Regions from separate parts of the Homo sapiens genome. Here region 1 is linked to region 2. The links are contacts of gene promoters, found by promoter capture Hi-C in human tissues and cell types (Jung and others, 2019). All regions are on one chromosome and are shown on one strand. The core of a region is centred on a gene start or on the middle of the fragment in contact, and the rest is flanking DNA. Distances in the headings are between cores, read along the strand shown.

What was found. Contacts are between HindIII fragments. The study calls those that stand out against the background at their distance.
Region 1: a contact is called between a fragment that was not itself captured here and the fragment with the promoter of CDH12 in region 2, in 3 of the 25 tissues and cell types used here (aorta, dorsolateral prefrontal cortex and stomach).

What each region holds. Positions count from the first base shown.
Region 1 is chr5:22,779,437-22,782,853 of GRCh38, forward strand. All of the region lies in intron 1 of CDH12 (cadherin 12), which reads right to left. Among named protein-coding and RNA genes, the nearest start is that of CDH12, 72 kb to the right of the region's middle. The HindIII fragment of the contact is 4,411 bases long and covers 1-3,417 here.
Region 2 is chr5:22,851,745-22,855,279 of GRCh38, forward strand. It overlaps CDH12 (cadherin 12), which reads right to left and starts at 1,600. Exons shown (of 15, transcript NM_004061.5): 1 at 1,314-1,600. The HindIII fragment of the contact is 14,494 bases long and covers 1-2,345 here.

The DNA.
Region 1 (3,417 bases), core at 467-2,966, 72 kb before region 2:
TACCTATTGGATCAGACAACTTTATCAAAACATTAGTAAATCATTCACAAAACTTAAAACAATAACCCCAGTTGATATAGTTTGGCTCTGTGTCCCCAACCAAATCTCATCTAGAAATTTAATCCCCATAATCCCCACATCGAGGGAGGGACCTAGTAGAGGTGATTGGATCATGGAGGCAGTTTCCCCATGCCGGTCTTGTGATAGTGAGTGAGTTCTCATGAGATCTGATGATTTTGTAAGTGTTTTACAGTTCCTCTTTTACATGCGTTCTAACTCCTGTCCCCATGTAAGATGTGCCTGTTTTCTCTTGAGCCATGATTGTGAGTTTCCTGAGGCCTCCTCAGCCATGTGGAACTGCAAGTCAGTTAAACCTTTTTTCTTTATGAAGTACCCAGTTTCAGGCAGTTCTTTATAGCAGTGTGAGAACCAACTAATACACTGGTAATTGGAAAGAGAAATTAATTTTTCACCTTTATATCCCTAGTTCCTCACACAGAATTTGGTTGATAGTACACATTTAATACATTTTAAATAAATTATGTATAAGTTCATCTTCTTTATAACAGTGTAAAAATTGCTTATGACAAATTGGTGGCTTTGGTTTTTAAAATAAGCAAACTGGTTTTTGCTAATGCTGGCTTTTGGCTTTTAAAATGTGTAATCTAGCCAGGCACAGTGGCTCGTTTTTGCAATCCCAGCACTTTTGGAGGCCAAGGGAGGAGGATCACTTGAGGCCAGGAGTTCAAGACCAGCCTGAGTAACATAACCAGACCCAGTTGCTACCAAAAGAAACAAACAAATAATTAGTCGGTATGGTGGCACATGCCTGTATTCCTGGGTACTCAGAAGGCTGAGATGGGAGGTTTGCTTGAGTCCAGGATTTCAAGGCTGCAGTGAGCTATTGTGTTAGTCCAGTCTCAGGCTGCTATAAAGAAATACGTGAGATTGGGTAATTTACAAAGAAAAGAAGTTTAATTGACTCATATTTCTGCATGGCTAGGAAGGCCTCAGGAAACTTACAATCATGGTGGATGGTGAAGGGGAAGAAAGGCAACCTTCTTCACAGGGCATCAGGAAGGAGAAGTACAGAGCAAAGGAGGGAAAGCTTCTCATAAAACCATCAGATCTTGTGAGAACTCATTCACTATCGCAAGAACAGCATGGGGATAACTGCCCCCATGATTCAATTACCTCCCACCAGGTCCCTCTCACGATATGTGGGGATTATGGGACCTACAATTCAAGATGAGAGTTGGGTGGGAACACAGCCAAACCATATCAGCTATAATCACACCACTACACTCTGGCGTAGGTGACAGAATGAGACCCTGTTTCTCTCTTTTTTTTAAGTGTGATCTATAGACAAATATTTATTTATGACTTTTATAAAAGAACTTTTCCAAATACTTGTGGTATAAATATTTGCTTTAGTAGTCTGTAAATAGTAATTTTAGCAGTAATAGGAACAGCTCACTGTCAGCTGAAACACAATCATTACTGACACAATAGGAGTACTGGAGGAAAAGCAAACACCCTATAACCTTACCCATTCCTATAAGTCCTCTCTCTTCACTATAAATGTGACACACTGATGAAAAGAATGACTATTTGAATGAACTGTGCATGATCAGGATAAGTCAGCTGATTATTTCAAATCCTTGAGTTGTTACATTTTTAAATATATTTTGAATCCTCTATAAATATAAAGTGTGCATTCCAATTTTGTACGATGTTATTCAAAGTGCTGCACTCAAGAAAAAAATGAATCTTGATTTTTCTAAGCAAAGCTTTACAGCTCCTAACCGTGGCAAGAAGCTTGGTCAAATCTAATCTCATTAATCATCCCAAAGATTAAATATTTTTGCATGGTCTAGAATTGATACACATTTTCAGTTTCAAAAACAGGAATTGAAATTGGAAAGTGCCTGGGGCACAGGATAAGTATAATTTATATGACTGTGATGAGGCTTTTGCCGATGCCCCTTTTCTTCTTCTTTCTGTCTATTTCATTTCTTTGGCTCTGCAGTTACTAAGCCAACAACCCCCAAGTCTCCTCCCACCACAGGACTCTTATTTCTCATTTCTCCCCTTGCACTGACCTATCTTCCTGCATTTTAGTTCCAACCTAGAACTGAAAAGCTTTGTTAGCTGTTATTCTCAGCAGTAATGGGCAGCTTTCCTTTGGAAGTAAGTGACTGCAATTGCCCCCTAATAGGTTCTGTACTCTTTAGTCCAGAGTAACTGAATCTATTAATTTCCCCTGCTTCTTCGGCCAGAATGCACTTCCCATGAAAGGATGGTGAGGGGAGGGATCCAAGCTTCTAGGGATACTATTGAATAGCAGACAAGGGATTGGAGGAAATGGTAAAGATAATTTTTCAAGAAAATTGTTAGAAAAGAAATTGGTACTCAAGACCTTGGGAGTCCACCTCTTTCAATAGTGTGTCCTGGGTGTGAGACATGCAAAGAAGATCACTTTGGAACTTTAAGATTTAATGACTGACTTTCTTGGTTTCCAGCTTACATGGGGACTGTGGCCCCTTTGTTTGGCCAATTTCTCCCATTTGGAATGGGAACATTCCCCATTACCCAATGTCTGTACCCCACATTGTATTGTTGAATTAACTAACTTGTTTTTGATATTACAGGCTCATAGGCAGAAGGGACTCACCTTGTCTCAAATGAGACTTTGGACTTGGACTTTTGGGTTAATGCTGCAATGAGTTAAGACCTTGGGGGACTGTTGGGAAGACATGATTGGCTTTGAAATGTGAAAAGAACATGAGATTTGGGAGGGAACAGGTGAAGAATAATATGGTTTGGCTCTGTGTTCCCACCCAAATATCATCGTGAATTGTAATCCCCAGGTGCCCAAGGTAGGACCCGGTGGGAAGTGACTGGATCATGGGGGTGGTTTCCCCCGTGCTGTTCTCATGATAGTGAAAGAGTTCTCATGAGATCTGATGGTTTAAAAGTAGCAGTTTCCCCAGCGTTCTCTCTCTCCTGCTGCCCTGTGAAGAGGGTACTTGCTTCTCTTTTGCTTTCCGTCATAATTGTAAGTTTCCTGAGGCCTTCCCAGCCATGCAAAACTGTGAGTCAATTAAACCTCTTTTATTTATAAACTACCCAGTCTTAGGTAATATCTTTACAGAAGTGTGAAAACAGACTAATAGAATAGGTTTCTTTGATCCTTGAGATTCTTATCTATGACCTAGGTTAACTATTCATTGACAATCATAAATTTGACTTCAGTTTGATGATATCCTCCAAGAAATTTTTGAAAAAGGATTATCATTTGTCTGCTTGTTTCTTACCTGCTTTTAATTACATATCGTATGTGGAAACCATGCACAGGATTTGGTGGAGCAGCATACCTAGAACATGCATTAGAGGGCATATGTCAAGTCTTCACAA
Region 2 (3,535 bases), core at 350-2,849:
AGAGACATTCTGCTAGAATCATGGAATTATTTATAATAAAAACTTACTCGGTTGAATTCTCCTGTTGACATAATAATAAAAATATATAAGATGATATTTTAAATTGTCTAGGATAATTTAATGATGAGGCGCTGCCACTGAATGATGAGGTTCAGTATTTCTTGACAGCTGTGTGTCTGGATATTATTTTATAACCTTACAACTGCTCAGGTATACAGTGAAGATCAAGCAAACTAATACCTGCTTGGCATGGTTGCATTTTTCCTGTTTTGGTCATGTATAGTGTAATTTAAAACTGTAAACACATTTTCAGAATCTACTCTATTTGAATTTTTCCCCCTCAGTATGTAAGGTAATTTTCTAGCTGAGCAGTTTGTGAATGAGCTTCAAAATACTCGATGAGAAATTGAGAATCATGAAATGGTCGCAGAATCAGCCAGAAGTATGTCAGTTCCCTCTCCAGAGAGTACAGAGAAATGTGTATAAGAGATATCAGGTACTCTGAAGTACAGAGGTTCTAAATACACTGTGGTCCCGATGTAGCAAAAAACAAATAATGATGTTAAAAACATAAGAAAATACTTATAAAATGCTGAAGGTCTTTTTTGAAAAATGATTTGCCATTATGTCCTATATCACACATATTTCCTCCTTGTTAAATGTATCACCAAATGATCAATAACCTTAAAATAATTTGGAAATGCATATTATATAACCCACAGCAGATCTGGTAATCTATCTCTTTCATTTGTCCCAGATTAGTTTTGTGGTAGGAAACTCAAATGGCTGTACCATGAGAGGCAGGCCATTAAAACATTTAAATGGTTTTACAGTGGTATTTTTCAAATGAAGAATGAAGTTCATAAATTTCAGCGTCAGTGGAGAAATGAGTGAGGGGGGTCGGCATCTCTGGAAGCTCTTTGAAAATAAAGCATTCATTATTTTGTTGTAAAAATCAGATATCTATAAAGCCATTTATAAAATAACTAGTTGGACATCTAGCACACCTACTTATTTTCATTTGAAAATTTAGCCATGCTAAGATGCATTTGAGGTTAAAACATTTCTTTCCTTCCTCTTTTCACGTAACCTCTCACGGTCTGAGGACCAGAGACTTGTTTAGAACTTACCGAAGTTTCCCAAAGCAAAACCACGCACAAGCTCCTAATTCAGCTGCCAGATCTGTGTGCAGCTTCGTTCAGCTTCTCACTACGCTAGGCATCACTTTATTAATCATGTATGAATTTCTGTGCATGCACCCTGAAGCGATCACACACACGCGGTGCAATCCCAATCAAAAACGGAAGCCTTACCTGATGGCAGAAAAGGCAGCTGCAGGAGCAGCAGCACCGACGGCCGCAGCAGGGTGCCAACAGCTCAGCCTTGCGCGGAAGGTGAGACCCTTCTCTTCTGTTTCCCCTTTCCAAATCACTGTGCCAACACACTGCTTTGCATTTTGTCCGTTTTCATTCAAAGAAGGTTCTCCAGGCCGGGCAGCCAGTAGACACCACTTTCTTCCTGGAAGAGGCTGCCTCTCTTCTCAGAAAAGCCTGGACCCCTCTCTGTGGCTCCCTCCACATTTACCCTTCAGATCAATAATGCTCTCGGAGCGGCTGGAGCTCAACTGCAGCGGCGAGCGGCGAGCCAATGGGGGCCCAGGATTCCCTCCTGTCATCTCCCCGCCCTCAAAACAAAACACAGCGTGCCTTTGACACATCATTGAGTAGTGAAAAGTAATTGAATCCTATATTTGAAATGTATTTTGTTTGTTCTTTTTCCCCCCTAGCGTTCATTGTAGAATGCTTTGAATGAATCCGAGGACTCCTTAGCTCTCAGAAGACTCATTAAACGAGCCTAGCAGCGGGTGAAGATTAGGCGCTGAGAAAGTGATAGCACCTGGGTTAGCACCCGAAGCTTTGCTTTTTAAATGCTTGAGATCTATTGCATATCAGAGAACTGTCACCTGGGAGGAAAAAATCTTGGGTTCTATTAGTCTTTCCTCCACTAAGTCGCTTGAGTCTTTTTTGTGAATCAAGACAATTAATTACGTTTACCTGGAAGCTGTCTCAATGTTTAATTGTCTAAACGAGAATCAGATGCTTATTGGTGACAATAACCATGCTCAAGCAATTTCTCCTAATTCACTTACTTGTTTCTAGGCTGATTTAACTTGGTTCAGAGTCTATGAAGAACTCAAGATTGCTAAGACTATATACATTAGTCTGGTCTGTTTTAATTTTGTCATGTTTAAATATTGTAAGATTTTAAAAATTAATGTTAATTTCTCTTTATATGAGAGAATTTATTAATAATTACCTAAAACTTTATAGAATATTATAATGGCAATAAAATATTACAATGAAAAGTGTTATTGTTGAAAACCTATTCCTCCAAAAGCCACAAAACAACTTTGCATTCTTTAACCATGATTATCTTTCTTTGTGTTTCACTATTAAAGTGCTAACTATTGAATAAACATTTGCTTAAATATATTCACCAAGAATCGTGTATTTTCTAAGACTCTAAGTCATTTTATTATTCAGACATCAAGAATGCCACAATATTTCAGATAATCATTTAATTTTGTTCTATAAAAAATCTCAAGAGTACAGAGTCTCAATACAGTTTTAAAAATATGTCTCCCTACAGGAGGACTGTACACAAATAACAATGTCTTTTCAATGCTAGTGTTGAAAAAGAATAAAATTATTGGGACTGTCTGAAATCTTTTTGTTTCACTGAATACAAATGTGTTGATGTAGGTGGTGTAGCCAAGCTTTGTGTATCGTGACAAATTGAAATGGCTTGGGGAGACTTTACAAACAAAACAATTTCGTGACCTGTCTATCACGTGAAGGGAGGCACGGAAAAATGTAATATTTACACACTGTATGCTGTGTCACTATAACAAGGTGAATGCTAACTTTATTGTAACTCATTTATGTAGCCAATAAATATTTCATTCAGGGCAGTCTCTGGCTAAGTTTGGTCACTTGGATTTTGTGAAGAAAAGAATATGCTGATGAAAAAATGAATCATAAACATTGCTTTTCCCTCAATTGTATAGTATATTTTTCATTTATTTAAATTCCTTTTTTGATCACAAATAATAGGTCATTGACTACAGAACATTGTCTTTGTACTACAGGTCGAGAGTTCTCAATGTGTGGTCCCCAGACCAATAGCAAAAACATCACCTGGAACTTGTTGAAAAGACAAGTTCTCAAGCCCTTCCCCAAGCCTATCAAATCAGAAACTTTAAGAGAATGGGACACTGCGATCTATGTTTTAATATCCCTCCAGATGCTTCCAATGCACATTCAGGTTGGACAGTCATTGCTCTAGCTAAGGGGTCTACAAATTACAACAGAAGACCAGCCACCTGCTTTTGTAAATAAAGACTTATTGAAACCCAGTGGTGCCGATTTCTTTATGTATTGTCCATGACCGCTTTCGCATTACAATGGCAGAGTCAAGTAGTAGCCACAGAGACTTACAATATGAATCCTAAAATGTTTACTATCTGTCATTTAAA